7 separate regions of the Homo sapiens genome follow, and regions 2, 3, 4, 5, 6 and 7 are each linked to region 1. Evidence: promoter capture Hi-C in 16 types of primary human blood cells and fetal thymus (Javierre and others, 2016). All regions are on one chromosome and are shown on one strand. The core of a region is centred on a gene start or on the middle of the fragment in contact, and the rest is flanking DNA. Distances in the headings are between cores, read along the strand shown. Region 1 holds the start of GINS3 (GINS complex subunit 3). Region 2 holds the start of SPMIP8 (sperm microtubule inner protein 8). Region 3 overlaps ZNF319 (zinc finger protein 319). Region 4 overlaps LOC107984867 (a long non-coding RNA gene). Region 5 holds the start of GOT2 (glutamic-oxaloacetic transaminase 2). Region 6 overlaps GOT2 (glutamic-oxaloacetic transaminase 2). Region 7 has its middle 9.3 kb from the start of SLC38A7.

Region 1 (3,050 bases), core at 252-2,751:
AAGATGAATCTTGAAGACACCACTAAAAAAGGTACATGAGCCCTGTGGACTTGGAGGGGGAAGTGGGAAAAGGAAGGCAGGACCTGCTATTTTTTTTCTTATAAATCTTTTGGTACTATTTGACTTTTTTTTTTTTTTTTTTTGAGATGGAGTCTCACTCTGTCGCCAGGCTGGAGTGCAGTGGCACAGTCTCGGCTCACTGCAACCTCTGCCTCCTGGGTTCAAGAAATTCTCCTGCCTCAGCCTCCAGAGTAGCTGAGATTACAGGCGCCGGCCACCACACCCAGCTTTCTAGTAGAGATGGGGTTTCACCATGTTGGCCAGGATGGTCTGGATCTCTTGACCTCGTGATCCGCCCGCCTCAGCCTCCCAAAGTGCTGGGATTACAGGCGTGAGCCACCGCATCCGGCCTATTTGACTTTTAAAACGTTGGTTATGTATTACTTTGATAAAAATTAACTTGAAACAAACAGACCAAACAATAAACATCGTTCTATACAAAACTTAGGTGAAACAGGATATCCAAATTAATCATTACAAGCCATGTTCCTGGGACAATTTTATATTTGAAGCCATATGGCCTTGGGTTCCGAATCCCAGCTCACCACTAACTGAAGCCCTGGCCAAGTGACCCAGCCTTTCTGGTTGCTGAAGGATTAAAGGGAAAAGCTTACTCCCCACACCCAACCATGCTGCCACTAAGTAAGCCTCAGTAGGGCTTACTGATCCTGTCATCATTATGGAGGAATGAATTTAGCAACTTGGGGTTCCTACTTATCACATGCTCTTACAGAACCCAAAGCTGTTTTAAGGCAAACATGATCAGAACTCTAATTCTTAAGTATTCAGCTGGAGCCAATCTTTAAGCATTCAACACACGTTGCATGGGGTAGGGGGAAGACACTAATTTGGACAGTTTCAAAAAAGAAATCAATGTTGGAGGCTGCCTGGCGACCTAGGATAAATGTAGTTTCACCACAGATGGCGAACAAGAAGTCTGGAGACCACCCCGAGCGCGAAGGGACCCCCGCGGAGTTTCCGAGAAGTCGTTAGCGCCTTCGGCCCTGGCTCCTCGAAAACTACAAATCCCAAAGGGCAGCGCGCCCCGATGCGGCGTCCCAGGGCCGAGGGGCCCGCCGGGAGCTGCAGTCTTTCCGGGCAGGACCCCGCACCCAAAGGCTCACCTGTGGGACCGCGTTGTCAGTCTCGGCGCCTGCGCTCCGCTCCAGGAAGAAAGCGCCAAGGCGAGGCATGGCGGTCTCCGTGCGCACCGGCAGCTTCTCGTGGGACATCAGGATGTCGTCCAAAGAAAGAAAGTTCTCCTCAGGCCCCAGCGCACCCGACTCCACTCGGAAATAAGCCTCTGACATGGCGGCCACTTGAGCTTCTCCGCTTCCACTCGCGTGATTCGGAGGAGCCTCAGGAGTTAGGGGTGTACAAGACGGGGAAGCGGAGACTGGGCAGGATGGTTGGGGTCAGGAAAGTGGATTGAAACTCGTTTCCCGCGCCCGGGGACGCATCAGACAGGAGCAGTCAATTCGGGCGGTACCGCCCAGGCAGAAGCAATCGATCAAGTCTGCAGATTTAGAGCAGCGGGACACGGCTGGGGAGCGGTAGGTGGGGGCGCCGGAAGTTCTCTTCCCTCCGCTTGCTGCACGGTGTGGGAACGTTACGAAGAAGCTGGAACGCTCGTTGAAGCTCCTGGACCCATTTGTACTGGATTGTGTTCATGTGATCCTTAACTATTTATATGAAATTAAAAACACTTTGCAACACTTTTAGGGGTTTAAAATAAAAGCATCTTGTGCCCTTCACTCCAGGCCTAAGTCCGACCCTTTCCTACAGTTTTTTTCACTATGCAACTCCGTTAATCTTAGTATTTGAAAGAAATGTTAAACAAACAAAAACTTCCAGCACTATCCCCAGCGAGTTATTATGGTCTAGATGATGAACTAGTGTGTTGTATTTTGTTAGTATTTTGGTGGGGGTTGGACGGGGTGGGTAGAGGGGTGGAGCACTAGACTGCACATGGCTTGCTAAGGTTGTGAGTATACTTCAGGGTGTCTTAGCTCATCATCAACTGACAATCTCCTTTTGTGGCTCTGAATTTAAATCCCTAAAAATGGAAATCCAATTGGTCCAGTTTATTGATTGGTCCAGGTACGCCACAATGGTCATAGATCTCCAGCCACCCTGTAGATGGGGGTGCCTGTGTTGGGTGCGATCACTATCCAGTGACCAGGGGAAGGACCATGGTCGCATAGTACCAGGTTTGGTGGCTCTCCTCAGCCAGGGCTATGGGTGGCGGCATATTGTTGAGAGATGCACTACAGAACTTACTTCGTCTAGAGCATTTCTGGGGCTACTGGAGCCGGGAGTAAAGGGTGTGTGTGAAGGGAGGTGTGTATTAACCATGGATTTTAGTTTCTGTTTTCTGTATTTTATGATGCTTTGACATCTTGGGGCCTTGGGGACCTGGGGAGGAATTGCCCCTTTCAGAGTTAGCTAATTCCTAGAGATAGCAAACAACTTGCTTGTGAACACCCCTTTCATTTACAAACCAACCAACCCAAGCCTATATCCCCACACCATCTTTATCCATCTCACACACCAATATTTTCCCTGCCCCAAGTCACTGTAATAAACCACCCCATGGCCAAGTACCAGACAACTAAAATTCACCTCTATATCCCAGAGCTTGCCAACATTATTCAAATTATTCAATCCTAAGCTTGTTCAGACTTCCCTTCCCTGCTTCGCCCATTCCTTCCCACGGCAATAAAGGCTCTGGGCTTTCTCCTCGCTCTCTCTACCTCCTCATTGACCCTAATACTTTCTCGTGTGGCCGTAGGCACAGCCCCTTCTCTTGAGAACTATAATAAAATTTTCAAAGGCATTGGCCACTAACTCATTGATTGTCATCACCCAGTCACCTTTATAAATGAAATTCTGAGGACAATGAAAACAAGGTGCAGTGGGGTGGAAAGGAATGGCCAAACTGTGGAAAATCTTGGTACCATTCTAAGGAGTTAGGCCATTCCATAGAAAAT
Region 2 (3,050 bases), core at 290-2,789, 420 kb after region 1:
ATCTGCCCCTTCCCCAAAGGGGATCCTACACTGGTGTCCTAACCTTTGCGGCAGTAGGTGGTGGACTGGCAGTGCTCATCAGGAAGGCAGGCCTTGACGGTGTCCCTGTCCATGTGGCGCAGGGTGGGCAGGGCTGGGTGGTAGAGCTGCTGCTTCACGCCCGCCAGCTGGTTGCGCTGCCGCTCCATGGGAAGCAGGATGGCCGGGGAGGCATACACATGTGTGGAGCCATCGTCCCAGGGCACCAGGTCAATGATGCGGGCCATAGCTGGGGGGCAGAGGGTTCTAAGGGGCTCACCCTGGGCTCATGCTGGCCAGACACCCTTCTCTGCATGAAAACAACCTTGGCCAGTGCCGATGTCTACTTGCCAAACATTTATTTAGCACCTACTGTGTGCCAGGCCATTTTTCTGGAGCTCAGCATGAGGTGGCAGGAACATTCAGATAACAGAAGATAACAGAGACAACCCTCCCACTCCCCTTCCAACACACACATACACACACACACACACACACACACACTCACATTGTGCCATGGCTGTGAGGGAGGTCAGTACAGAGTGTGTGTTTCTGGGGAGGCTGGGGTTAGGACATTCAAGGAATGGTCTAAAAGAGGTGGTATTTGAGTCTATTCGTTTTTTTTTCTTTCTTTCTTTTCTTTTTTTTTTTTTTTTTGAGACAGTCTCACTCTTCTGCTCAGACTGAAGTACAGTGGCGCCATCTTGGCTCAATGCAACCTCTGTCTCCTGGGTTCAAGTGATTCTCCTGCCTCAGCCTCCTGAGGAACTGGGATTATAGGCATCCACCACCACATGTGACTAGTTTTTGTATTTTTAGTAGAGACGGGGTTTCACTGTGTTGGCCAGGCTGGTCTCGAACTCCTGACCTCAAGTGATCCACCCGCCTCAGCCTCTCAAAGTGCTGGGATTACAGGTGTGAGCCACCTTGCCTGGCGAGTCTATTCTTAAATAATAAGCAGGAAAGTGCAGCAGCAAGCGGGTTCAGAATGTAGCTTAGTATGCCGTATACCTCTGGGTGAATAATTATGGACTTGCCCTAGCTATTTACCCAAAATTCTACAGATTGACTCAGAAAGATTTTCAGGAAGGGGAGCAACATGATATATTTAAACTAGAAAAGCATTACTGGATACCCAGTGCCTCCCTTTAAAAAGCAGATAGTCCCAGGAGCCTTTCAGTCATTTACACTTTAGTGAGAATTTGTTGAGACAGCTTGCTTTCTTCCTGACCCTGAGTTAGAGGTGAGAGGTGGAGGTGGAAGCTAGGGTGGCAGGAGGAGAGAGGACCTTAGATCATGGAGGAGCAGGGAGGGGGCATGGTGACAAGGCATGGGGAAGCTGCCTTAGGGGATGTGACTGCCTGGGGAGGGACAGGGAGGGGGATCACGGATATGGGGAAGAGAGCAAGGGCTCCCTGCTTCTGACTCACCAATAGCAGCTACCTTATCTGTAGGGCCCAGGCCCAGGTGCACAGGCTTATAAGGACTTTCAGTTCTTTGACTGCTCAATGGGCAGAAGAGGAAGGGAGGTGGACGAGCCCTTATTATGGACAGCAGCAGAATAAAGGAACATTGTGCACAGACAATGCCCATTGCAGCCTGATTCTGAGGCACCCACTCCTTAGCAACCCTGGCAACTACAGGCTCTAACAAGAGCCTGTGCCAGAATTCCTGTGCTCTGGCCACTCCCTTCCAGCCTTCCTGAAGGCTGTGGTCTCCCAGGCCTTAGCACAGGCCAGGCATCTTGGGAAATGTCAGATGGGGAGCTGGGGTTCCCTGGAGGTAGTCAGGCCAAGGCAGGCCAGAAATGGCTACTGAGCCCACTGCAGGCTGTGTAATCCTGGGCTAATTACCGCCTCTCTCTGGGACTCAAGGCTCTCCTCTGTGTTAGGCAAGGACTCTAGGATCTGCCGTTAGGAGGATCTGGATGCTGAGAGGGATCTCCCCTCCCTGGAACCCTCAGGGAAGAGGGCACTGCACTGTCTGCCAGCCCTTGAGTCTCCAGGAGTGGAGATTAGCTGTGGCCAGTATCCAGGGTAAGCGTGAGGGGATCAGGGAGAGTGGTGGACTCAGCAGGCCAGGGATTAGCAGATGATACTCCACCCTCAGCCCCTGCAGGACTGCAGGCTCCCAGAAAAGCCAGGCTGTGAGTGCCCAAGGCCAGCACCCCAAAGCCCTGGGGCCTGCCCACCATCCTGGTCACAACCATTAGAGACAGACCCCCAAGGTGAGGAAACCCCAGGAGATCCTAACTTATTTGCATATATTGGCATGTGCTTTTGCATATACCTGCCCAGGGGCTGAACCTGATGGGTCTTGGAGCCCCTCCTGTGAAATTCTTGTAGGATTTGTTTCCCCAGTTGCTCCTCCTCCAGTGCTCCATACAGCTTCCAGAACAGCATTCCTAACTGCTACCCCTTACAAAAAACCTTCCCAGAGTTGACTCCACTCACCACCCCACCCCCAATTTATTTCTTGACTCTTTTAAAGTTATAAAATAGAAGAAATACAGAAAGTGAATAAATATCTAATGTAACTAATAATTTACAAAATGAGACCCCGTATAACTACCACCCACCCTGGTCAAGACATGGAGTACTACTTTTAAAACAGTTTATCAGTTTCTTAAAAAATGAAACAGAAATGTACCATATGATTGGGTCATCTGGAAGATTCTACCCCAGGAGGCTTCCCAAGAGAAATGAAAGTATATTGTGAGGCACGATGGCTCACACCTGTAATCCCAGCACTTTGGGAGGCTGAGGTGAGCAGATCACTTGAGGTTGGGAGTTTGAGACCAGCCTGGCCAACATGGTGAAAACCTGTCTCTACTGAAAACACAAAAATTAGCTGGGCGTGGTGGTGCAAGCCTGTAATCCCAGCTACTCAGGACGCTGAGGCAGGAGAATCGCTTGAACCTGGGAGGCGGAGGTTGCAGTGAGCCGAGATCGCAGCATCGCACTCCAGTCTGGGCGGCAAGAGCAAGACTTCGTCTCAAAAAAAAAAAAGTATATATCTTCACAAAGACTTGC
Region 3 (3,050 bases), core at 323-2,822, 400 kb after region 1:
CCACGCCCACCTCCTCTGTCTGACTGAGTTCCTTCCTGTGGCCACAGGGAGGGGCTGGTCCTTCCCCTCGGTGCTGGCTCTCTGTCACAATGCCTCAAAAGACATGGAACCCAGGCCTACAACCGTCCCAACTGCTAATTCTTTTCCTTTCATTTTGCTTTCTGAAAGCAGTTTGTTATACTATTCATAACATTGTAGAGTTTAATTTCATGTCATTTTGGATCTTATATAAAAATGTGAGGATTTGGATTTTTAAAAAGAATGACTCCATTTTAGGTAGCCACTTTTGATGTTAATATATAGTGAGTCCAATGTATGCTTTAGAAGTAAAGACATTGACCGTCACAGACCACTGCACTGCTTGTTCTGCTCCTTCTTCCACAGGGGAACGATGGACATGGAGAGGCAGAGAGGGGCACAGGCCTGAGTGGCGGCTTGGAGACTGGGGCATAGGGCTGGGTTTGAATCCTGAGCTTTGAACGTTCTGGCTGTGTGGCCTTGGGAACCTCTTTGGGACTCAGTTGCCTCATCTGTAAAATGGGGAGGTTCACCTTGCCTTGCTTGGTTGTTGTGAGAATTAAATAGAGCCCTATAGAAAGTCCCTGGTGGGGATGTTTGAAGATGCTGACAGTACCAACTCCAGGACACCTGGGATTTTCAGGAATGAGCCTGAGACCTCCTCACTTCCATTGGCTTTAACCACAGCCCCCGAAGTGGGAGCTGACCTGTGAGAGAGCAGCAGCTCATGGAAGCCTGGAAGCCAGGCACTGGGCCTGGTGAGCATGAGAGCTTGCGCAGCCCCAGTGGAAAACCAAGGGCCTGCCTGCAGCAGCAGCAGATGCAGCCAGCCCGGCCCTGCCCCAGAGGAGGGGGAGGACTTGCTGTCACCCCACAACCACCCACCCTGTCACACAGTGACCCTTCTGCATGGTCAGCCCAGCTGCCTCCCACCTGAGCCCCTCCAGCACACCTTTCCTCCTGCACCCCGTCCCTGCCCCCGTGGCCCAGCTGCAACTCAGGCTCTGTCTGTTGCTCAAAGGTGGGGATAGAGGTAGGGGAGAGAGAGGGAAAAACAGCCTCCCAGGCCCGGGCACCTGAGAGCCAGTGAAAGTGGTCAGCAGGGGCACCTTGCCCTGAGTTAAAAGGACAAGGAGCTGCCCACACTGCAGGTGGCCCGAAAGCTGGGTACAGAAGGTGCGAAAGGCCAGGGGACCGAGATGTGACCCAGTCCCCATGCTCTTCTTCCTCCCTCTGGGTGGTCACGGGAGGAACCTGCCCTTGAGAAACCATGTGGTTCCTTCCCACAGGCTTCTACCTCCCAGGAAGAGGATGCCCGGGGCCTTGGTTCCGTGCCAGGCTCAAGTCCCAGCTTGCTTTCTCGCCATGTGACCTAGGCAAAACCCACCCATCCTGAGAGGCCCCTGGAAAGTGCTAGCGTGTGTGTGAGGCTTTATAATTACTGCCGCAGGTTGTCCCTTGTAAGTGGGTGACAGCATGCATGGGCCAGGGCAGGAGGGGCCCTGACTGGACATGGCTGAGCTCACATGGAGCCTGCAGTGGCTTCTTCCTTTGTCCCTACCCCTACCTGCCTCACAAAGCAGTGGGGTTCCTACACCTCCCACCAGGCCCTCAGCCTCTAGGCTCCAGCCTGGGCCTAAACCAGGGCAGCCAATGGGTCCCTGGTCTGGGAGCCCAGATGTTCGGGTTCAGGGCCAGGCCCTTTGGTAACACATGGCCTAAGGCCTCTGTCTGCCCCTCTCAGGCCTCAGTTCCCCATCTGAAGCAGGCCTGGTGCTCTGATTCTGGGAAGGCGCCAGGATCAACCCATGGCCCATTTTCCCTTCCCTGCCCCTCCTGGCCTCCAGCCTGCTCCCCTCTGGTATCTCCGACTAGCCTCTCTTGGTTGTAAGTGGCAGAAACAGCACAAACCGGCTTAAGCAGCTGCTCACTGCACCTGGTCATACAGGTACTTCTCCCACCAACCGGCCCAGGAATGCTGACCTACAGGATGGCCAATTTCCTGTGTCCCAAACCTGATGAGTGTCTCCTTCACTTACAGCATAGCATTTTTTTGTTTGCTTGTTTGAGACCGTGTCTCACTCTGTCACCCAGGCTGGAGTGCAGTGGCACGATCTCAGCTCACTTCAACCTCCGCCTCCCAGGGTCAAGTGATTCTCCTGTCTCAGCCTCCTGAGTAGCTGGAACTACAGGTACATGCCACCATGCCTGGCTGATTTTTGTATTTTTAGTAGAGACAGGTTTTCACCATGTTGGCTGGGCTGGTCTTGAACTCCTGACCTCAAGTGATCCACCCGCCTCAGCCTCCCAAAGTGCTGGGATTACAGGCCACTGCACCCAGCCAAGCACAGCATCTTAAAGGGGAGCTTCAGATGTCGTGACTAGGAGTATAAACTAATGTTATATCTTCAGCCTCTGGCTAATCATTCCTTTTGGCTCAACCACTGGGAGGATGGGAAGTGTGGTGCTTTAGGATGAGGGTGACATCTGGATGAGGGCTAGGGCTGGGAAGAAGAAGGAAGGAGGAGGGAGAGACTGACACAGCCTTGCCTTTGGGAGGTAGTCATTCCCCCTGGCTAGTGAAAGAGACACCAGGGGTGGGAAGGGGAGGGGGCCATTCTCCTGGGTCCTAGAAGCTGGTGCCAGGGCAGGCTGGGCCACCAAAGGGGATGTTCCTAGGAAGCCCATCATCCTGACAGCTTTTCCAAACTCCCACCATGCACTGGCTCTGCTCTATGCTTGGCCCTGCAGGGGACGGGGGAGAGGATGCCGCTTTCTGGGGGTGGAACCTGTACTCGTGAACCGTAGTAGACTGAGTGCGGTGTCCTGGTTCAGAGCACCACAGGCAGCCCTGGCTAGAGTCCCACGTCTCCACTCATTGGTTCCATTGAAGCTCTCTGAGCCTCAATGTCCTCATCTGTGGAATGGAGTCAATAATGCTCTCTTCTGAGGTTTAGGGTAAGGGCACAGTGGAATGATCTGTGTGACATGTTTGGCATATAGTAGCCACCCAGAAGGACTGTAGCGCTGGG
Region 4 (3,050 bases), core at 233-2,732, 370 kb before region 1:
TTCCTAGACAGAGATCTGAATAAAGTCATATATCAATACGCCAGTGGAGTAAGTCTGTGAGTAGCTAAGGCAGAGCATTTGAACACAAAGCTACTGAATGAACTATTTTGGTCTCTTTATGAAGATACTGTATATGCAAAATCAAATCCCAGTGTAGGAATACATTAATACAGTCTGACAACATAAGCAAGGGGACCCCCTTTAAAAACTCTAAACTCAACATCTTGGGCAAATAGGTCACTTCCAAAACAGCTCTGCTGCCTGCAACCTTCGAAGACAGAGGCAACATGGGTAGCCTGAAGAGGGAAAGTACAGAATTTGGATTTATGGTACCAGGTTGAAATTGCAGAGGGAAACAGATGGGAGATAAAATGCTCTGTGAAGTTTACATTTTTCTATACATTCATTCAGTGATTGCTGCTCACCATCTGTCTTGGCTCTGTAAGTTGGGTCTTCAAGCATTGAAAGAGCTTCATTCTGTCACTATTGCAGAATGACACTGAATGTACCACTTCTAAAGATTATACCTGGTCTAGCAGAGCCCAGCCCTGTCCCGTTAAGCCTGTTGCCCCATCCCCACATCACAAGACTAAAATGAAGGCATCTCTGGCAGCTTTCTCTCATTCTCAAGCTTCATCCTGAACCATCCCCCTCTTGCTTTTTCTTTTTTTTTTTTTCACCTCTTTTCCATTTAGAATCTGGCATGTGTCCTCAGACTATTACTGTACACCAGTGGTTCTCTTCACCAACCATAATGCCTAATTTTCCCGTTAATTTCCTACTTCTGGTTACTGTAAACAAAGTAAATCCCTCATTCCCTACAGCTGGGCCACAAAACCCAGGATAGACCCTTGTAATCTCTGTGATCCCTGGATGTTCACATGAGCTCTTGACTGATGCCCACTTCCTGCATGTTGGTCAACATTTTACCTGGATCCTTTGGAAGGAAGGGAAACAAAAAGGATCAGCAATATGAACCTCTTAATTTGAGTAAATGCTAATCAAACCCAATAACAGGCCGGGCATGGTGGTTCACGCCTGTAATCCCAACACTTTGGGAGGCTGAGGTGGGTGGATCACCCGAGGTCAGGAGTTTGAACCAGCCTGGCCAACATGGCAAAACCCCGTCTCTACTAAAAATACAAAAAATTGTCTGGGTGCAGTGGCTCACGCCTGTAATCCCAGCACTTTGGGAGGCCGAGGCAGGCGGATCATGAGGTCAGGAGTTCAAGACCAGCCTGACCAATGTGGTGAAACCCCGTCTCTACTAAAAGTACAAAAAAATTAGCTGGGCGTGGTGGCACGTGCCTGTAGTCCCAGCTACTCGGGAGGCTGAGGCAGGAGAATCACTTGAACCCAGGAAGCGGAGGTTGCAGTGAGCCGAGATCACGCCATTGCACTCCAGCCTGGACAACAGAGCCAGACTCCGTCTCAAAAAAAAAAAAAAAATTAGCCAGGCATGGTGGTGGGCACCTGTAATCCCAGCTACTTGGGAGGCTGAGGCAGGAGAATCACTTGAGCCTAGGAGGCAGCGGTTGCAGTGAGCCAAGATCATACCACTGTACTCCAGCCTAGGTGACAGAGCAAGACTATGTTTAAAAAAAAGAAAGAAAGAAAAAAGAAACAAAAACAATAACAGATGTTCTCTTCAGCTTTCACTCTCCGTTTTGCATCATGTGAAAAGTCATGCCCTCCCCAATAATTTTTGTTCAGTTCTAAGATCTTTATATTCTCATTGCCACTCCTTTCAGCAATTCCCTAACTCCACTGAATTCTGATTTCTGATTTTAGTTATGCCATATGTTCATTTACTGAGTCCTAAATATCTTTCTTATATCATCAAATATTTCTCAAGTTGGCCGGGCATGATGGCTTACACCTGTAATCCCAGCATTTTGGGAGGCCAAGGTGGGCGGATCACTTGACTACAGGATTTCAAGACCAGCCTCACCAACATGATGAAACCCTGTTTCTACTAAAAGTACAAAAATTAGCCTGGCATGGTGGCGTATGCCTGTAATCCCAACTACTCGGGAGGCTGAGGCAGGAGAATTGCTTGAACCCAGGAGGCAGAGGCTGCAATGAGCCAAGACTACACCACTGCACTCCAGCCTTAGTGACAGAGCGAGACTCCGTCTCGATTAAAATATATATATATTTCTCAAGTCCTTCATATATGAATGTAACAAAACCCCATCACTGTTATCTAAGACATAATGATCTAGTGCGGGGACAGAATAATGAACAGGTAATTAAACACTGTTAAATGCTCTGATTGCAAAAGTAGAGTGTACTTCATTCTAGGGTGAGCTGAGAGGTTAGAAAAAGCTTCCCAGAGAAGTAAGAAGCAGGGAATACCCAGATTCTTGCAACTCAAAATGTGGTCCATAAAAATAGATAAATCTACAATTATACTTGGAAATTTCAGTATCTCTCTCTCTCTCTCAAAAATTAATAGAACACTGGGCACAGTGGCTCACACCTGTCATCACAGCACATTTGAAGGCCGAGATGGGAGGATCACTTGTGCCCAGGAGTTCTTAACCAGCCTGGGCAACAAAATGAGACCCCATCTCTATAAAAAATGTAGAAAGTAGCTGTACATAGTGGCATGAGCCTGTGGTCCCAGCTACTCAGAAGGCTGAGGCAAGCAGATCACTTGAGCCCAGGAGGTCGAGGCTGCAGTGAGCCATGTTCACACCACTGCACTCCAGTGCTTGGGTGACACAGTTAGACCCTGTCTCAGAAAAAAAAAAAAAAAATGACATAACAAGTGGACAGGAAATCACCAAGGAGATAGTAGACTTGACAACTATGAACCAACTTGACCTAGTTGACATTTATAAAACACTCGACCAAACAACAGCAGGATAAACATTCTTCTCAAATGCACAAAAAACAGTTACAAAAAAAAAAATCCTACTCTGGGACATAAATCGAGTCTCAATTATTTCAAAAGAATTCAAGGCATACAAAGTATATTCTCTGCCCACAAATTAATTAAATTAGAAATCAATAACTGAAAGAGCTCTGGAAAAATCCCAAAATAT
Region 5 (3,050 bases), core at 276-2,775, 340 kb before region 1:
GGCTCACTGCACTCTTTTTTTTTTTTTTTTTTTGAGTCGGAGTCTGGCTCTGTTGCCCAGGCTGGAGTGCAGTGGCGCGATCTTGGCTCACTGCAAGCTCCGCCTCCCGGGTTCATGCCATTCTCCTGCCTCAGCCTCCCGAGTAGCTGGGACTACAGGCGCCCGCCACTATGCCCGGCTACTTTTTTTTTGTATTTTTTTAGTAGAGAGAGGGTTAGCCAGGATGGACTCGATCTCCTGACCTCGTGATCCGCCTGCCTCGGCCTCCCAAAGTGCTGGGATTACAGGCGTGAGCCACCGCGCCCGGCCTGCACTCTTGAATTAATGGGCTCAAGCAATCCTCCCTCCTCAGCCTTCTGAGTAGCTGGAACAGGCACGCAACACCACATCCTGCTAATTTTTTTTTATTTTTTTAAGAGATGGGGGTTTCATCTTGTTACCCAGGCTGGTCTCAGACTCTTGTTTTCATGCTATCCTCCTGCCTCAGTCTACCAAAGTGTTGGGTTTACAGGCATAAGCCAACACACCGGGCCCCTACCTTGGTTTAAGAGACGAGTATCAGAGAAATAGACTACACATGAGAAAGACTCGTTTGACTTGTGGATGTGTCTGAAATTCATTTGCTTTTTCCTTTAAAACCGATTCATTTCCTTCAAAACCGATTCATTTCCTTCCACAAACAGTTATCAGGATTTGACATACACGAGTTTGTCATTAATGACCATGGGTTATTTTGTGCTTACTAAATCAGGCCCTGTTTTAGACATAATCTGCTAATCTTATTAATCCTCACAACTGCCCCACAAAATACACATGCGACCCTCTCCATAAAAGGGATAAGGAAGCCAGGTGCGGTGGCTCATGCCTGTAATCCTAGCAGTCTTGGGAGACTGAGACGGGCAGATCACTTGAGATCAGGAGTTTGAGACCAGACTGGTCAACATGGTGAAACCCCCGTCTCTACTAAAAATACAAAAATTAGCCGGGCGTGGTGGTGGCACCTGTAACCCAGCTACTCGGGGAGCTGAGGCAGGAGAATCGCTTGAACCTGGGAGGCAGAGGTTGTAGTGAGCCGAAATCACGCCACTGCACTCCAGCCTGGGTGACAGAGTGAAACTCCATCTCAAAAAAAAAAAAAAAAAAAAAAGGGTGGGGGATAAGGAAACATTCAGGAACGACGTGACATGACTTGTGCTTAGGGAAACTATTAGGGTTGAAAGTAAGGCCACCTTGGGTCCTAATGGCTGTAAGGCATCAGACAAAATACGTCAACTATGTCAGCCTACATTTTCTCATCTTTCAAACTGCCATAACAGCAGCCACCTCTTCGGCCGGCCAGGCCTGGCCCAGCTGGATTAAATGAATGAAGCGCAGCAAGGGCTGGGCGTAGGTAAACTGTGCAGTCATCCTCTTCCACGACCTCCGCTGAGCCCACGCCGCTCCGCCCGCCGGCCGCCAGGGATCGCTGTGACGTGGCTCGGGCCCAGCACGCGGCCGCTCTGGCCCAGGGAAGTCCCTGTCCTTACCTTCAGCAGGAGCCGGTTCCCTGTGTGTGTGTCCGCTCGCCCTCTGCTCCGTCCTGCGGCTGCCCACTGCCCTCCTACGGTCCACCATGGCCCTGCTGCACTCCGGCCGCGTCCTCCCCGGGATCGCCGCCGCCTTCCACCCGGGCCTCGCCGCCGCGGCCTCTGCCAGAGCCAGGTAAGCCAAGGGAAACGGAGATGGAGCCAGGGCGATGGCCCTGCCCCGCCGAGCTGCGAGCACCCCAGGACATTCACCCCTCCCGGCCCCCAAATACACACTGTCACTCACACGCACACACACACACTTTTCTGCCACCCCCTCGGCTTTCCCTTACTGGGGACTGAGGATTGAGCGTCCGTGCCCCACAGTGATCCTCAGGATCCCACATCCCTCTGGTCCCCGCACTGGGCCCTGCAGGAAGGCGTGCAACGCAATCCCTAGGGAAAGGAAGTGTGGCCCTCGGCGGTTGCCGGACTCCCATTCAGTGGGAGGGGTGCGGATAGTACTGGGGCAGCGGCGCCGGGTAACGACCGTGCCCTTGATAGGGTGCCCTGGGGGCGGCGGGCGCACCTGTCCTGGCCCCCGGCCCGCCCGAGTCGGTGGGCCGGCGGCGGCTGGCTGCCGCGTGTGTGCCCTGGGCGGGAAGAGCGCGAGAGGAAGGTTTCCGGGGCGCCGGCATTCGGGCCTCGCTTTCCTTCCCGCACCTGCGACCTTGGCGTGCGGCATTCTCCTGACCTTGCGACCCCCCGAGGTCCCTGTGACCCCGGGGCCCGTTTGGCCTTTGCTTGGGAAAGGGTCGAGGTGTAGTGTGTCTCTTTTTTTGTTTTGTTTTGTTTTTTCCTTATTGCCCCTAAGGAGGTCCGGTTGCAGGGAGGCTATCAATCTTCCTCTCCATCTCCCTGTGCTCTTTCATTCAGTAAATATTTCGTAACTGCAGTTTCTCAGAGCCAGGCTCTGGACCAGATGCCAACGATACAACTGTGAACAAGGCGAGGGAAGGACAATGACAAATGGTCATTGCTCAAAAAATGACAAACGTAATTTCGTACTGTGGCGTGTATAATAGTATGGAGGGAAATTTCAGAGCTTGAAACGAGCTCTAGTAATTCATTCCCAGTGGAGACCGGAGCCAGAAGATTAATTCAACTCAAGAAGCCGATTTGGAGCACTCTCCTTAAGCACTACCTTAATAAGGAACTGAGTTTTAAAACCACCCCCAAGCAGGTATTAACTGCAAGGAGCAAAGCGTAGCTTGGCCTTTCGTTTGAATGTATGCTCTGTGTCTTTCAGCCAGCAGAACTATCTGTCCTTTCCAAGGCCCCACAGCCTTGGCAGTACAGTTTTGCCCAGGCTTCGCACTTTTTTCTCTTCCTGACTTGGCTCCTTCCTGGCCCACTGTCAACGTGTGCTCTTTAAGTCTGCCTACCTAGTGGGCCAGAGCCAGGAGGAGTTATTTATGCAACAAATTTGGAAAACCAAAGGAGTGCTTAAAATTTCCGTCAAGAGAAAGTATGTTTCCCTATTGC
Region 6 (3,050 bases), core at 393-2,892, 330 kb before region 1:
TCCAGTAGCTGGGATTACAGGCATGCGCCACCATGCCCAGCTAATTTTTGTTTTAGTAGAGACAGGGTCTCGCCATGTTGGCCAGGCTGGTCTCGAACTCCTGACCTCAGGTGATCCACCCGCCTTGGCCTCCTAAAGTTCTGGGATTACAGGCATGAGCCACCGCACCCAGCCTCTCAGTGTCTTTTTATATCTTTTATATAATTCACCCCTTTTTCATATTGAGGAGGAATTTTTGTGTTCTGAAAGTTTCCCGTGTAACATGAAATGATACTGACAGGCCATAAAGAATGAGCTTCTGAAGTATGAAAGGTCCTGGACAAAGCAGTGGCCCTGGGTCTGGGCCTGTATAGAGAGTGTTGCACATCACTGACCGTGGGTATCTCTCCTTCAGTTTGTCACTGTGCAGACCATTTCTGGAACTGGAGCCTTAAGGATCGGAGCCAGTTTTCTGGTGAGTCTGGAAGCTTCTTCAGGAAAGAATTATAAATTCCAGATGACAGGGCTTCCTGTTGTGTGTGTATTTGACTGTTGATGCAGAAGTAGATTTCTTCTTTCCGTGAAGTTTGCAGATGTCCTATTCTCATGAAAAAATGAAAGGACTTTGAAGAAATTACAGGAAAGATATATTAGTGATGATGATAAATTCAGTTCACTAGGAACTTACTATTTACTAGGGAGCTTTTGCATTTTAACTTGTTTAATCCCTATGAGAGAGGTACAATTAACCCCCTTTACAAGTGAAGAAAGCAAGACCCAGAAAGGTCCTTGGCTACATGGCCAGTATAACTGTCAGAGACTATTCCAACCCAGGCAGTCTTACTGCTGAGTCAATACTGCTTCTCAACCATAGAGAGAAACTGGGTTTCAGCAGAGAAAAATGTTCTCTCAATAAAACACATCAACATTTTTTTGCCTCTCCTTTGTTCATTTTTCTGTTTCCTTTCGTCCCATCTTTTAGCAAAGATTTTTTAAGTTCAGCCGAGATGTCTTTCTGCCCAAACCAACCTGGGGAAACCACACACCCATCTTCAGGGATGCTGGCATGCAGCTACAAGGTTATCGGTATTATGACCCCAAGACTTGCGGTTTTGACTTCACAGGCGCTGTGGAGGATATTTCAGTAAGTGTGGCTTTCAGGGTGAGAGAGGTGAATAAAACTCCTTGCTTGCGGACATTTGATGTCTCCCACCATGTCCCAATATCTGAGTTAAAATACTGGGGAAGAGCTGATTCCCAGGGTTCTGGTTACCTTTGTTACTTATCAAATGATGACGATCCTGTGGCATTTCAGATAAACCATTTCCTTTAAAGCTGCAAAGTCGTCTCTTGGCTGTTTTTCTCTTTAGAAAATACCAGAGCAGAGTGTTCTTCTTCTGCATGCCTGCGCCCACAATCCCACGGGAGTGGACCCGCGTCCGGAACAGTGGAAGGAAATAGCAACAGTGGTGAAGGTGAGGACGATGAACTCACTGGCGACAGTTCTGTGTTTAGTAACCAGCTTTGGAGGCTTAATTTGGCAATGTCTCAACAGAGAGTCTTAACCTCGAACCTGCGTGAAATGTCCACACAGGTGGATAAGCTGCCAGAAAAGGGCTCCCCATTTGCGTGATTAGCAGTTCTGGGATTGATGACGCATGAGTATTTGAAAGTAATTTTTTTTGGCTGGGCGCGGTGGCTCACGCCTGTAATCCCAGCACTTTGGGAGGTCGAGGCAGGTGGATCACCTGAGGTCAGTTCGAGACCAGCCTGGCCAACATGGTGAAACCCCGTCTCTACTAAAACTACAAAATTAGCTGGGCGTAGTGGCCCATGCCTGTAATCCTAGCTACTTGGGAGGCTGAGGCAGGAGAATCACTTGAACCCAGGAGGTGGAGATTGTGGTGAGCCGAGATTGTGCCACTGCACTCCAGCCTGGGCAACAAGAGCAAAACTCTGTCTCTAAAAAAGAAAAAAAGAAAATAATTTTTTTCCTCATCCTGGATGTAGGGAACTCTGATAAAACCTGTCCACTGGCCCCAGGATGTCTGCTGTTGATGCCTATATTCGCCCTGGTCAGTGGTTGCTTATTGATCTTTTTAAACACTTTTTCATGTCCTCTCCTTTGCAGCATTGCCATGATCACTCTCAAAGTGTAGCCAGCTGTCAGAGAAGACACTAGTCAAAATTCCTAGGGAGGAAAATGTTATTCCTGTTGTCTCATGTCCCTGTTTTCCCTTTTCACTCCTTTTCATTTCCCTTTCTTTTCTCTCTCTCTCTTTTTTTTTCTTTTGAGACAGAGTCTCACTCTGTCGCCTTAAGCCAGAACGCAGTGGCACAGTCACAGCTCACAGCAGCCTCTACCTCCAGGGCTCAAACAATCCTCCTACCTCAGCCCCTGAGTAGCTGGGACTACAGACATGTGTGCCACACCTGCCTGGCTAATTCTTCCTATTTTTCACAGAGACAGCATCTCACTTTGTTGCCCAGGCTGATCTCAAACTCCTGGGCTCAAGTGATCCTCCCACCTTGGCCTCCCAAAGTGCTGGGATTATAGACATGGGCCACCATGCCTGGCCAGTTTCCCTTTCTTTAACTTCTGTCAAATCTAAGCTGCAAACAGAATGAGACAGAAACAGCATTTGGAGAGCACTTTCAAGATAAAATGGTTCTAATGATGTTGTCTCGTGAGTCCTGGGTATAAGTTGAGTCTTCCAGGATTACGTTAGCCCCAGAAAAGGCTTATTGTGCTTATTGGGACCATGCCCACCTCACATAAACATCTTTCAGACTTTTATAAACATCTGGGGCCTCTTCAGAAAGACTGCTAAAGCTTCGATCTTTCGTTCCTTCTCAGAAAAGGAATCTCTTTGCGTTCTTTGACATGGCCTACCAAGGCTTTGCCAGTGGTGATGGTGATAAGGATGCCTGGGCTGTGCGCCACTTCATCGAACAGGGCATTAATGTTTGCCTCTGCCAATCATATGCCAAGAACATGGGCTTATATGGTAAGCTACAGCATCCAGCATGACACATGCTCTCATGCTGGGAGAGAATGCCACGAGGGCATA
Region 7 (3,050 bases), core at 407-2,906, 300 kb before region 1:
AGGCACAGGCTGTGCACATGTCCAGGTAAGATCTAAGAACATCCTAATCTCTCACTTCTGGCTGGCCTTGAGGCTCTGTGCAAGCAGAAAGTGAAGTCCAGGACAGAGGGATAAACTGCCAACCAGAGAATTAAAATCAAACGGGCTGGGATACTTACTGGTTCAAGGCATTTAAGGAAATCTATCAAATTCACTAAACTAACTCAGAGGAGACTTCAGTGGCCACACACAGCAAAGAATACAGACTTTAAAGAATTAGTCCAGGAAGGTCACTACAGAAAAGGTAGCAGCAACAAACTCCAATTTTTGGATTTCCATATTATATTATTTTTCAATGTCTAGTCTTCAAAAACATTATGAAAAATGTAAAGAAATGGGAAAGTATGGTCCATACATAGGGAAAAAAGCAGTCAATAGAAACTGTCCCTGAGGAAGCCCAAGCCCAGGCATTAGACTTACTAGACAAAGACTTGGAATCACATAGGCAAAGAGTGAAAGGAAATTATGTCTGAACAACTACAGAAAAGTATGAGAACAGCGTCCTGTCATATAGAGACTATCAATGAATAGATATTATTAAAAAGACCCAAATAGAAATTCTGGAGTTAAAAAGTACAGTAATAACTGAAATTAAAAATTTAATACAAGGGCTCAATAGTAAATTTGTGCTGACAGAAGAATCACTGAACATGAGGATACATCAATTGAGATTATCCGGCCTATGGAAGAGAAAGAAAAAAAATGAAGAAAAATGAGGGCTGGCTGTACCTGTAATCCCAGCACTTTGGGAGGCTGAGGAGGGCAGATCACTTGAAGCCAGGAGTTCCACACCAGCCTGGCCAACAAGGTGAAACCCCGTCTCTACTAAAAATATGGAAATTAGTCGAGCATGGTGGCATGTGCCTGTAATCCCAGCTACTCAGGAGGCTGAGACATGAGAATCACTTGAACCCAGGAGAGGGAGGTTGCAGTAAGCCAAGATCACAACACTGCACTCCGGCCTCGGTGACTGAACCAGACTGTCTCAAAAAAAAAGAATGAAGAAAAATGAACAGAATTTCAGAGACCTGTGAGACACCATCAGGCATACCAACATATACATAATGGCTGTCTCAAGAGAGCGAGAAGGGAGCAGAAAGAATATTTGAAGAAATAATGATGGAAAACTTTCCAAAGTTGAGAAAAACATTATCTACACATCCAAGAAACTCTAAGATAATCTTTTTTTATCTTTTTTTTTTTCCTTGAGACGGAGTCTCACTTTGTTGCCCAGGCTGGAGTGCAGTGGCGCAATCTCGGCTCACTGCAAGCTCCGCCTCCCAGGTTCACGCCATTCTCCTGCCTCAGCCTCCCGAGTAGCTGGGACTACAGGCGCCCGCCACCACGCCCAGCTAATTTTTTGTATTTTTAGTAGAGACGGGGTTTCACCATGTTAGCCAGGATGGTCTCGATCTCCTGACCTCGTGATCCGCCCACCTTGGCCTCCCAAAGTGCTGGGATTATAGGCGTGAGCCACCGCGCCCGGCCTAAGATAATCTTAAAGAGATCCATACCTAGAAACATCATAAACTATCCAAAGTCAAAGAGAGAAATTTGAAAGCAGCAAGAGAAGGAACACATACCGGGCTCCTCAGTGAGCTTAACAACTGGTTTCTCATCAGAAACCATGGAGGCCGGAGGCAGTGAGGAGACACATGCAAAGTGCTCAAAGAAAAAGACCATAAATTAAGAATTCTGCATCCAGCAAAACTATCCTTCAAAAACAGAGAAATTAAGACATTCCCAGATGAAAACAGAGAAAATTGTTGCTAGCAGATCTGTCCTATAAGAAATATTCAAGGAAATCCTTAAGGCTGAAATAACAGGACACTAGACAGTAATTTGAATGAAGAAATAAAGAGCACCAGTAAAAGTAACTACATAGTAAATATTAAAAGTAGTACAAATGCATTTTTTTGTGTATAACACTTTTCTTGTGTTCCCTACTTATTTTTTATTTTTTAAAACACAGTCTTGCTCTGTCCCCCAGGCTGGAGTACAGTGGTGCAACCTCAGCTCACTACAACCTCTGCCTCCGAGGCTCAGCAGTTCTCCCGCCTCAGCCTCTCCAGTAGCTGGGACTACAGGTGCACACCCCCATACCCAGCTAATTTTTTTTTTTTTTTTTGGTAGAGATGGGGTTTCACCTTGTTGCCCTGGCTGATCTCAAACTCCTGGGCTTAAGTGATCCACTCATATCCACCTCTCAAAGTGCTGGGATGACAGGCATGAGCCATCACACCTGGCCATGCTCTCTCATTTAAAAGGCAACTGCATAAAGTAAGAATTATAAAACTATGTTGATGGAGCCAAGCTCAGTGGCTCATGCCTGTAATCCCAGCACTTTGGGAGGCCAAGGTGGGCAGATAATTTGAGGTCAGGAGTTTGAGAGCAGCCTGGCCAACATGGTGAAACCCTGTCTCTACTAAAAATACAAAAATTAGGTATTTTTAGTGGTAATGCATGCCTGTAGTCCCAGCTACTCAGGAGGCTGAGGTGGGAGAATAGCTTGAACCCGGGAGACAGAGGTTGCAGTGAGTCAGCATTGTGCCACTGCACTCCAGCCTGCATGACAGAGTGAGACCCTCTGTCAGAAAAAGAATTTTTTTAATTTAACAGTAAAACTATGTTGATGGGTTTATAATGTATATAAACTCTTGTCATACTGAAGTAACATATAGGGGAAGAGAACAAAAGGATATAGAAGCAAAGATTTGGAACCAAGTGAATTAAATTGGTATTAATTCTAACTAGATTGTTGTACTAACATTAATTATAATCCACAGGGCAACCACTAAGAAAATCACTCAAAACTGTATATAGTAAATGTCTTAGTCCATTTTGAGTTGCTGTAACAGAATACCACAGACTGGAGAATTTATAAGCAATAGAAGTTTATTTGGCTCATGGTTCTAGAGACTGGGAAGTCCAAGAGCATGGTGCTGCCATCTGGTGAGGGCCTTCATGCTGAGTCATCCCATGGCAGAAGGTGGAACACTTATTTTTATTTT

Evidence for each region. The method cuts DNA at HindIII sites, captures the fragments that hold promoters and counts their contacts. A CHiCAGO score of 5 or more calls a contact.
Region 2: the fragment with the promoter of SPMIP8 here is called in contact with the fragment with the promoter of GINS3 in region 1 in 5 of 17 cell types (M2 macrophages, erythroblasts, megakaryocytes and 2 more); the score reaches 9.9 in M2 macrophages.
Region 3: a fragment that was not itself captured here is called in contact with the fragment with the promoter of GINS3 in region 1 in 2 of 17 cell types (non-activated CD4 T cells and activated CD4 T cells); the score reaches 6.3 in non-activated CD4 T cells.
Region 4: a fragment that was not itself captured here is called in contact with the fragment with the promoter of GINS3 in region 1 in 3 of 17 cell types (activated CD4 T cells, total CD4 T cells and non-activated CD4 T cells); the score reaches 7.9 in activated CD4 T cells.
Region 5: the fragment with the promoter of GOT2 here is called in contact with the fragment with the promoter of GINS3 in region 1 in 4 of 17 cell types (activated CD4 T cells, naive CD4 T cells, total CD4 T cells and 1 more); the score reaches 6.7 in activated CD4 T cells.
Region 6: a contact is called between a fragment that was not itself captured here and the fragment with the promoter of GINS3 in region 1, in 6 of 17 cell types (naive CD8 T cells, activated CD4 T cells, naive CD4 T cells and 3 more). The highest score is 6.7, in naive CD8 T cells.
Region 7: a contact is called between a fragment that was not itself captured here and the fragment with the promoter of GINS3 in region 1, in 9 of 17 cell types (activated CD4 T cells, naive CD4 T cells, non-activated CD4 T cells and 6 more). The highest score is 10.4, in activated CD4 T cells.

Annotation. Positions count from the first base shown.
Region 1 is chr16:58,390,922-58,393,971 of GRCh38, reverse strand. GINS3 (GINS complex subunit 3) reads right to left here and starts at 1,501. Exons shown (of 3, transcript NM_022770.4): 1 at 1,185-1,501. The coding sequence starts at 1,370. RefSeq lists enhancers at 708-1,284, 1,189-1,678, 1,285-1,862. The HindIII fragment of the contact is 2,062 bases long and covers 672-2,733 here.
Region 2 is chr16:57,975,033-57,978,082 of GRCh38, reverse strand. It overlaps SPMIP8 (sperm microtubule inner protein 8), which reads right to left and starts at 1,539. Exons shown (of 8, transcript NM_199456.3): 1 at 1,449-1,539; 2 at 44-268. The coding sequence starts at 266. The HindIII fragment of the contact is 9,202 bases long and covers 1-3,050 here.
Region 3 is chr16:57,991,975-57,995,024 of GRCh38, reverse strand. It overlaps ZNF319 (zinc finger protein 319), which reads left to right. Exons shown (of 2, transcript NM_020807.3): 2 at 1-349. Among named protein-coding and RNA genes, the nearest start is that of ZNF319, 7.2 kb to the left of the region's middle. The HindIII fragment of the contact is 8,196 bases long and covers 1-3,050 here.
Region 4 is chr16:58,765,132-58,768,181 of GRCh38, reverse strand. All of the region lies in intron 2 of LOC107984867 (a long non-coding RNA gene), which reads right to left. Among named protein-coding and RNA genes, the nearest start is that of GOT2, 32 kb to the right of the region's middle. The HindIII fragment of the contact is 1,697 bases long and covers 634-2,330 here.
Region 5 is chr16:58,732,791-58,735,840 of GRCh38, reverse strand. GOT2 (glutamic-oxaloacetic transaminase 2) reads left to right here and starts at 1,525. Exons shown (of 10, transcript NM_002080.4): 1 at 1,525-1,701. The coding sequence starts at 1,613. RefSeq lists enhancers at 1,401-1,480, 1,180-1,798 and silencers at 1,921-2,010, 2,111-2,200. The HindIII fragment of the contact is 10,522 bases long and covers 1-3,050 here.
Region 6 is chr16:58,716,600-58,719,649 of GRCh38, reverse strand. GOT2 (glutamic-oxaloacetic transaminase 2) reads left to right here. Exons shown (of 10, transcript NM_002080.4): 4 at 395-454; 5 at 962-1,123; 6 at 1,350-1,454; 7 at 2,837-2,987. Among named protein-coding and RNA genes, the nearest start is that of GOT2, 16 kb to the left of the region's middle. RefSeq lists an enhancer at 396-1,595. The HindIII fragment of the contact is 2,345 bases long and covers 470-2,814 here.
Region 7 is chr16:58,692,585-58,695,634 of GRCh38, reverse strand. No RefSeq gene overlaps it. Among named protein-coding and RNA genes, the nearest start is that of SLC38A7, 9.3 kb to the right of the region's middle. The HindIII fragment of the contact is 6,848 bases long and covers 1-3,050 here.